2 separate regions of the Homo sapiens genome follow, and region 1 is linked to region 2. The links are contacts of gene promoters, found by promoter capture Hi-C in blood cells and fetal thymus (Javierre and others, 2016). All regions are on one chromosome and are shown on one strand. Each heading gives the region's core, a stretch centred on a gene start or on the middle of the fragment in contact. The rest is flanking DNA. Distances are from core to core; before and after follow the strand shown.

What was found. Contacts are between HindIII fragments. The CHiCAGO score rates a contact against its expected background, and 5 or more counts as called.
Region 1: a contact is called between a fragment that was not itself captured here and the fragment with the promoter of ADD1 in region 2, in 2 of 17 cell types (naive B cells and activated CD4 T cells). The highest score is 6.0, in naive B cells.

Annotation. Positions count from the first base shown.
Region 1 is chr4:2,667,724-2,672,058 of GRCh38, reverse strand. The region is part of intron 12 of FAM193A (family with sequence similarity 193 member A); the gene reads right to left. Among named protein-coding and RNA genes, the nearest start is that of TNIP2, 86 kb to the left of the region's middle. RefSeq lists an enhancer at 307-851. The HindIII fragment of the contact is 5,143 bases long and covers 1-4,335 here.
Region 2 is chr4:2,841,097-2,845,844 of GRCh38, reverse strand. It overlaps ADD1 (adducin 1), which reads right to left and starts at 2,001. Exons shown (of 16, transcript NM_001354761.2): 1 at 1,821-2,001. RefSeq lists silencers at 1,540-1,689, 1,810-1,999, 2,060-2,439, 2,540-2,589 and an enhancer at 2,718-3,229. The HindIII fragment of the contact is 1,799 bases long and covers 897-2,695 here.

The DNA.
Region 1 (4,335 bases), core at 1,214-3,713, 170 kb after region 2:
AGTCACATTCTGCCAAGTAGTTACAAAGCAAATACAAAGGTAAGTGGGCTTTTCCTGACACCCTGAGTTGACCAGGGCCTTCCATGCAAGGAAAACGAGGGACCCCAAGAGACTGAGACTGAAGAAGACGCACAGAGAAGAAAGGTGTACCTCATTCCACAGACAGACTCAGGTAGAGCCACTGGTTCTGAATCCTATGCCTATGCAGAAAATCTCTCTTCCCACATGTGAGCAGGGACAAGGGAACTAGTGAAGACGACAGAGTAGAGAGGGGATGGCTGTGCTCCACTGGGCTCACACTGCTTCTAAGTAGTCACACATGGATTCTCCAAAACAAAGCAGAGACGCGACTTCCGGTTACGGTGGAGTGAAGAGGTCAGTGGCTCCTTTCCCTCAGGGCAAATGTAAAACTGAACACAATTGTCAAAGGCAACCATTCTGAGGCTCTGGAAATCAGCCCAAGGAAAATACCGCGACACATTTATTCATGCAAATCAGCTAGAACTTCAAGGAAGAACAGCAAGTCTGGCTTTCTTGTCTGGGACTCTTTCCATTTCCTGCACCTGTACTCCACCCCTGACTCGGTCGGCAGTGGGCACAGGAGTTCTGTGACTGCAGGGATGTCAGCGCAAACCAACCCTGCTACCAAAAACAGCAGCCTGGTCAGGCAGAGGGTGAAGCAGTAAAAGCAGTGAACTTAGAAGGGAATGAATAGGGAAGCCTGCAGCTCTGTTCCCTTGAGACTGAGGTCCCAACTGGGGTGAGTGGCAAAGGAGACAGAAATCTAACAGAGAGAACCCTGGAAATGAGAGCGCCACGGAAGGGCTTCTTAAGCTGTCCACAACTCGCTGGCTGACCAGGAGAGCACAGTGCATGCACTGAGGACACCTCACGGGCTGGAGGAAGGGGCCAACACAGCTGACTTGAGAACTGGCTGAGTGCTGAGCGCATTCACCCCACAGCCAACAATGGAGCCCCTGTGGATTCAAGGTGCATGGGCAACCTCTGCCCAAATCATCAGCTGGCCAATCAGCCAGGTGGACAAAGGGCAGACCTCTAGAAGCCAAACTAAAAAGGAGAAGAGAAGAAGTAAGCTGAGACACCCACAGCCACATAATGTGGGAGATACAGGTCCTGCAACTGAAGCCCAGGAAATAACAAAAACAAGGAAACAAACAAAAGACAACAAAGGACCCTCAAGGGAAAAAATGATAATGCAAAATTATCACATTATTTAAAATGTCCAATTTTCAACAAAAAATTATGAGACAAGCAAAGATTAAAGAGAAGTATGACCTAGGCTGGGCGCAGTGGCTCACACCTGTAATCCCAACACTTTGGGAGGCAGAGGTGGGAAGATCACTTGAGCCCAAGAGTTCAAGCCTAGTCTGGGCAACATGGCAAAACCCTGTCTCTACAAAAAGTACAAAAACTATCCAGGCATGGTGGTGTGTGCCTGTAGTCCCAAGTACTTGGGGGGCTGAGGTGGGAGGATTGTTTGAGCCCAGGAGGTCCAGGCTCGAGGCTCCAGTGAGCTGTAATCATGCCACTGCACTTCAGCCTGGGTGGCAGAGCAAGACCTTGTCTGGAAAAAAAAAAGTGTGACCCACATGCAGGAAATAAATAGTCAAACGGTTAACAGGAGTGAGTTCAGATACTAAATTAGCACACAAAGATGTCAAAGCAGCTGTTATAACATGTTCAGAGAATTAAAGGAAAATATGAAAATAAAGATTCAACATATAGGGAATTACTACAAAAAAAGAGAAACAAAAAAACAGTAAAATATAAATTCTATAGGTGAAGAGTACAATAGCTAAACCAAAATTTCACTAAAGGGGCTCAAAAGCAAACTTAAAATGGCAGAAAAATCATCTGTGAACTTGAAGAAGAGCAATGGAACTGATCTAGGAAGAGAGAGAAGAGATGAGGGGAAAGTATGCAGACGCTCAGAGGCCTGTGGGAGAGCAGCCAGCACTCCAGCATGTGCAGAACCAAGTCCCAGAGGAAAGGGGGAAGAGCATCCAAATAACACCTGGACACTCCACTTCCCAAATGTGATGAGAAACATTGGTCTACAGATCCAAGAAGCTCAGTGAACCTTAAGATGGATAAAAACAAAGAGATACTGAGAGCTGCAGAACTCTGGCACACAATGACCACCTAAGGCTTCCTGCAGCCAAAGGCCAAGTCCCTAGGATGACCCCAGACCCTACTAAAACACCTTCTTGAGAAAGCCAGGCTGCCAGGAGAACTGACTGCTTGTTCTAACAGTCTGACAGCTGATGACTGTAACAAGAGTAACACTCTGGTGTGGAATTTGATAGTGGGAAGGCTGTGTGTGGGGACCCTGGGTATAGGGTGTCTCTGTAGCTCTCACTCAACTTTGCTGTGAGTCTAAAGCTATTCCTAAAAACAACCACTCTATTTATTATTTATTTATTTATTGTTGAGACGGAGTCTCACTTCTCGCCTAGGCTGGAGCGCAATGGCGCGATCTTGTCTCACTGCAACCTCTGCCTCCCGGGTTCAAGCAATTCTCATGCCTCAGCCTCCCAAGTAGCTGGGATGACAAGCACATGATAGCACGCCTGGCTAATTTTTGTATTTTTAGAAGAGATGGGGTTTCACCACGTTGGCTAGGCTGGTCTCGAACTCCTGACCTCAGGTGATCTGCCCGCCTCTGCCTCCCAAAGTGCTGGGCGTGAGACACCCCCATGCCTGGTCTATTTTTTAAAATGAAGGCAAAATAAAGACATTTACACAAAAACAGAATTAACTGCTAGCAAACTGGTCCTGTAAGACATATTAAAGGAAGGTAAAAACAAGACGGTAACTTAAATTCGGCAGAATTTAAAATGAAGAATGCCAGAAATGACTAGCCAGCTAGCAAATAGAAAACACTGTATAAATACAGGCCAGGCGTGGTAGCTCATGCCTGTAATCCCAGCACTTTGGGAGGCCAAGGCGGGTAGGTCACCTGAAGTCAGGAGTTTGAGACCAGCCTGGCCAACATGGCGAAATGTCATCTCCACCAAAAATACAAAAATTAGCCGGGTGCCATGGTGCTTGCCTGTGATCCCAGCTACTCAGGTGGCTGAGGCAGGAGAACTGCTTGAACCTGGGAGGTGGAGGTTGAAGTGAGCCAAAATTGTGCCACTGCACTCTAGCCTGGACAACAGAGTGTGACTCTGTCTCAAAAAAAGGAAAAGAAAAAGGAAAAGAAAAGGAAAAGGAAAAGAGAAAGAGAGAGAGAGAGAAAGAGAGAGAGAGGAAAAGGAAAAGAAAGAAAAGAAGGCAGGCAGGCAGGCACTGTATAAATACATTTTTCTCTTTTATTTGCTCTAGAAATTATAAAGCTGTATAAAGCAGTAATTAAAACATATTATTGGTTTGTAACATATACAAATGTAATTATATATAGGACAATAATAGTACAAAGGAGAAAGAAGGAAATGGAGCTCCTGCGGAGCAAAGTTTGTATATTTTACTGGAATTAAGTCAGTAGTAATCTGGAGTAGATTGTGATAAATTAAGATGCATATTGTGGGCGGGCGTGGTGGCTCACACCTGTAATCTCAGCACTTTGGGAGGCTGAGGTAGGTGGATCACTTGAGGCCAGTTAGAGACCAGCCTGGCCAAAGTGGCAAAACATTGTCTCTACTAAAAATACAAAAATTAGATGGGCGTGGTGGTGCGCATCTGTAATCCCAGCTACTTGGGAGGCTGAGGCAGGAGAATCACTTGAACCTGGGAAGCAGAGGTTGCAGTGAGCCAAGATTGCGCCACTGCACTCCAGCCTGGGTGACAGAGCGAGACTCTGTATCAAAAAAAAAAAAAAAAAAGATGCATATTGTGGCTGGGTACACTGGTTAAGTGTAATCTTAGCACTTTGGGATTTCCTGGCGGGAGAATCACTGAAGGCCAGGAGTTTGAGACAAACTTGGGCAACACAGGGAGACCTTGTCTCTACTAAAATTAAAAAACTTAGCCGGTCATGGCGGCACATGCCTATAGTCCCAGCTTACTAAGGAGGCTGAGGCAGGAAGACTGCTTGAGCCCAGGAGCTTGAGGTTGCAGTGAGGCATGATGATGCCACCCCACTCCAGCTTGTGTAACAGAGCAAGACCCTGTCTCTAAGAAAAAAAGAGATACATATTGTATTTTAATTTTTGTTTCTTTTTATTTTTTATAACGACATTCACAAGAGATGCATACTGTAACCCTACAGCAGCCACTAAGAAAATTAAAAAAAGAATCAACAGAAGAATTAAAATAGTACACTAAAATTTTTGTTTAATATTTAAAAAGGCAGATACTGACATATACAGGATA
Region 2 (4,748 bases), core at 752-3,251:
TATTTTGTTATCTTTCAAAGCATTTCAGTATTTACTTTTCTTATTCAATTCAAAGACTATAAGAACTAAAAACTAAAAATCATGTAAATAAACAGTTTTTATGGCAAAATCAGTAACACAAAACTGAACACCAAACAAAACCTTCTCAGTATATCAGATAACATCAAAAGAATTAAGGGGAAAAATGACCAGCTTGTACGAAGTATATTTTAGAAGGAAAACTATCTCACAATTCGGGGACTGGCTAGAGTTTAGACTCACATCACTCAGCGACTCTCCGAAACTTTAAAACCTAAAGACACCACAAGTAGAAAACTAACAAATCATACCAGCTGTCCATACCATTGTAAACCACATCGAAACTCTGAAAAGCAGTTTTGACTGCCCAAATCATCCACTTCCTGAAAAGACAACTTTACTATTCTAGTTTTCTCCACTGTCAAAATCAAAGGAGTATATTAAAATTTTAACGTAGGCCAGGCGCGGTGGCTCACGCCTGTAATCCCAGCACTTTTGGAGGCCTAGGCGGACGGATCACGAGGTCAAGAGACTGAGACCATCCTGGCCAACATGGTGAAACCCCGTCTCTACTAAAAATACAAAAATTAGCTGGGCGTGGTGGCGCGCGCCTGTAGTCCCAGCTACTCGGGAGGCTGAGGTAGGAGAATTGCTTGAACCTGGGAGGCGGAGATTGCAGTGACTGGAGATCGCGCCACTGTACTCCAGCCTGGCGACAGAGCGAGACTCCGTCTCAAAAAAAAAAGGTATCATCGCGGGCCTTTGTCCATTCAAGGCTCCAAAGTTTACAAACTCACTTTCATACAATTCACACCCTCTGCCTGAAATGCCCTCCTCTCTCTGGTGCCTGTTGAACTCCTACTCATCCACTCCAAGCTTGTTTTCACTAGGCGCCTCTACTCATAGACACAGTCGACCTATCAGCATTCTATTTCCTATCCCCATTAAGATCTCAGTCAATTTTTCACACAAAAAATCTTTCTTTAACTTACCAGTAATGCATACAGCTATCAGCTATGTCTTTGGTCTTTGGAGATATGACAATTGCTTTTTGTCTTTCTAAACATAAATTATGCTCAAACCAACAACAGTTTCAGGCGAACCAAAATACGTTTTTCAAGGTGGGTATGCATAAAGTGAATGCAAATTACCTCCCAACTATCTTGAGCCATTACAAGAGCAAAGATAAAAGTCATCCTAACAGGGAAAGGCCCTCTGACATCTCCCAAAAAACGAAAATAAAAGATTAAGAAAAAAGAAAAGAGAGGGAGGGCAAAGGTGACCAACAGCCCCATCGCTGATAAAGTTCCACGATTATCTCTCGAGCGTCCGTCGGCAGATATGGCTTTTCTCTTTTGGCAGAAGCCGTCGTTTTTAAATACGAGAGCCGACAGATGCGTCCGTACACAAACCTTGCAGCCACCAGCGCTGCGGACCGCGGAACCGGTCTCACAAGCAGGATGCTGACCAGCGTCCAGCCAGGGTCGTCCTCCTCCGCCCCCACCCCTGCAGCCCACAAGCCGGCCAGGAACGAGCGGCCCGGGAAAAGCCTAGTCCCCGGGGTCCTATCCCGATGAAAGATCTGCGGCGCCCTCGCTCCCCGGCTCGGCCCAGGCCGAAGGCCCCGCGGGGACCCCTCCAAGACGCCCTCGGCGCCGCAGCGGCCTCCCCGCCCCCGAGGCTGCCCGGGCCGCCGCAGGCCCCGCGGCCCCCGCCCGCCGCAACCGCGGCCCAGTTCCCCGCGCCCCCGCCGCCGCCTCAGCCCGAACCGGGCCCCCGCCGCCCCCGCTAGCTAGCCTCACCTCAGAAGCGAATCGTGGGCAGCGCGCGGGATTCCGGGGTCCCAGTGCGGCCACCGCCCGTCGGCTCCGGCTCCGGCTCCGCCCCCGTCCCCTGGCCCGCAGCAGCGGCCCGCCAGGCCTCTCCGCCCCTCAGCCCCTCCGCTCGCCCCCACCGCCCGACCTGGGTGCGGCCTGCGGCGCTGCAGCCCAACAACGCGCCGTCCCATAGGCCAAGCCGCGCAGCACTGCCGAGCAACGTACCCTGCGATTGGCGGGACCCATGAGGGGCGGGTCCCCTGCGGGCAGGGCGATTGGACTCGCCAGGCCCGCCTCGGGGCGACCCCGCCGGGGCCTGCGGAGGCCCAGGGTCCCGCGCGGAGTACACCCCGGCCGGCAGCTTCGGGCGCCAGGTCATGGCTTCACGGTGGCCAGGTAGACTGCGGCGAGCCCCTGCCGGGTCCGCTGGACACGGTTTCATTGTGATTGACCTCCGCCGGAGGGGCTGTCGGAGCCCAGGGACCCTGCCCTCCCGCCGCCGCCCAGCGCACTCCCCCAGCAGACGGGCCCTGCCCCGCGTAGCCCCGCCTTGTGCAGTCCCCAGGCCGAGTTTTGGGGCCCGGGTGGGGTCAAGGCAGCAGGGCCTGTGGGCCCCGATAAGGCTCCACAGAGGACAACTGCCTGGCCCCCGGGCCCGGCCTGCGGGTGCTGAGGAGACCAGCGAGCACCAGCCACCTCCGCACGACCAGGGAGTGAGCCTGCGGGGCTTTGGCAGGACCAGCCTCAGACCAGCACCTTCCCGCACACTGTCCCTCCTGCTGGCGCATCTGACACCCAAAAAAACAAGCAGCGAGACAAATGGGCACGGCTGCTTGTCCTCTTGACACCCATAGAAAGCTTAGGTCCAGAGCTGGGCAGTGGCAGAAGAGTGTGGAATCCAGACCTCCCTGCTCAGCAGGAGCCTCTGTGACATTGCCCCAACAAGGGTCAGGGATACTGTCTGGATGGAAGCCAGCGACCCCTGTTCTAACCATTTCTGTTGGACGTTGGCTTTTCCAAGACGATTTTTCTGACAAGATCACAATTCTGTCTCATTCACTTCTGCTTCCCATAGTTAATCACTAGGGAAACGCAAATCAAAACCACTGTGGGATACCACTTAACATTCATTAGGATGGCAGTTGAAGAAGCAGGGAGTTGGGCGCAGTGGCTTCAGCCTAAAATCCCAGCACTTAGGGAGGCAGAAACAGGAGGATAGCCTGAGCCCAGGAGTTGGCAGACTTGACTGGACAACATAAGGAGACCCTGTTCTCTACAAAAACGAGAAGAAAACAAAAAGTTTCAAGGGGGGAGAAGGAGGAAGAAGAGGAAAAAAAGAAAATAAGTGTTGGCAAAGATGCGGAGAAATTGGAACCCTTTGTGCATCGCTGACGGGAATGTAAAATGGTGTGGCTGCTGTGGAAAACCGTAGAGTGGTTCCTCAAAAAATTAAACATAATTACCACATAATCCAGCAATTCCACTTCTGGATATATACCCCAAAGAAATGAAAACAGCTATTTGTACCATGTTCATAGCAGCATTATGCAGAGAAGGAAATTCTATTTATTGGGGTTTTGTGCCTTTTTTTTTTTTTTTTTTTTTTTTTTGGAGTCAGGGTCTCTGTCGCCCAGGCTGCAGTGCAGTGTTGCAACCATGGCTCACTGCAGCCTTGACCTCCTAGGCTCAAGGGATCCTCCTGCCTCAGCCTCCCAAGTAGCTGGGACTACCAGCACGTGCCAACATGCCTGGCTAATTTTTGTTATTTTTTGTAGAGACGGGATCTCACTATGTTGCCAGGGCTGGTCTCAAACTCCTAGGCTCAAGCAATCTTCCCAAATCCAAACTCAGCCTCCCAAAGTGCTGGGATTACAGGCATAAACCCATAAACCACGATGCCTGGCCAAAAGAAAGGAAATTCTGACGCATGCTACAACATGGATGAACACTGAAGACATGCTATGTGAAATAACCCAATCACAAAAAGATAAATGTATGATTCCACTTGTATGAGGTGTCTAGAGTAGTCAAATTCAGAGAGACAGGAGGTAGAATGGTGGTTGCAAAGGGCTGGAGGAATGGGGATTTAGTGTTTAATGGGTACAGAGTTTAAGCTTGGGGTGATGAAAAAGTTCTGGAGATGGATGGTGGTGATGACTGAACAATAATATGAATATTCGCAAAGCCACAGAACTGTACACTTTAAAATAATTAAAATGATAAACTTTATAATATGAAAATTTTATCATAATAAAACAATTTTAAAGCTATTAAAATATTCCTTCCTTTTCCAACTACAAAAAAGTAAAAAGGTCCAGGCGTGGTGGCTCTTGCCTGTAATCCTAGCAATTTGGGAGGCCAAGGCGGGAGGATTGCCTGAGCTCAGGAGTTAAGAGATCAACATGGACAACATGGCAGAACACTGTCTCTACTAAAAATACAAGAAATTAGCTGGGTCTGGTGGCAGGCACCTGTAATTCCAGCTACTCAGGAGGCTGAGGCACAAGAATTGCTTGAACCCAGGAGATGGAGGTTGCAATGAGCCAAGATGGCGCCACTGCACTCCAGCCTGGGTGACAGAGACTCTGCCTCCAAAAAAAAAAAAACAAAAAAACAAATACGGTCTTAGGTGAGAGTTTTAAAATACATTGAGTTAGAATTAGATATATACAACAATAATATCAAGTAATGAGGGAGACCAATGAAAGTCACCTGAGGTCCTTATGTTGTCCAGGAGGAGGATAAAAGTATTTATTAGTTAACTCTAGACTTCAGTAAGAATAGAGAGTGTTTAACTTTCTAACTAGGAGAAGGGGGGAAATGAAATGATTTGTTTTAAGTTGCTCAATCTCAAAGAAGGGGAAAAGGAGAGAAAAGGGAGGAAGAAAACACAAACACAAGTGAGACAATATG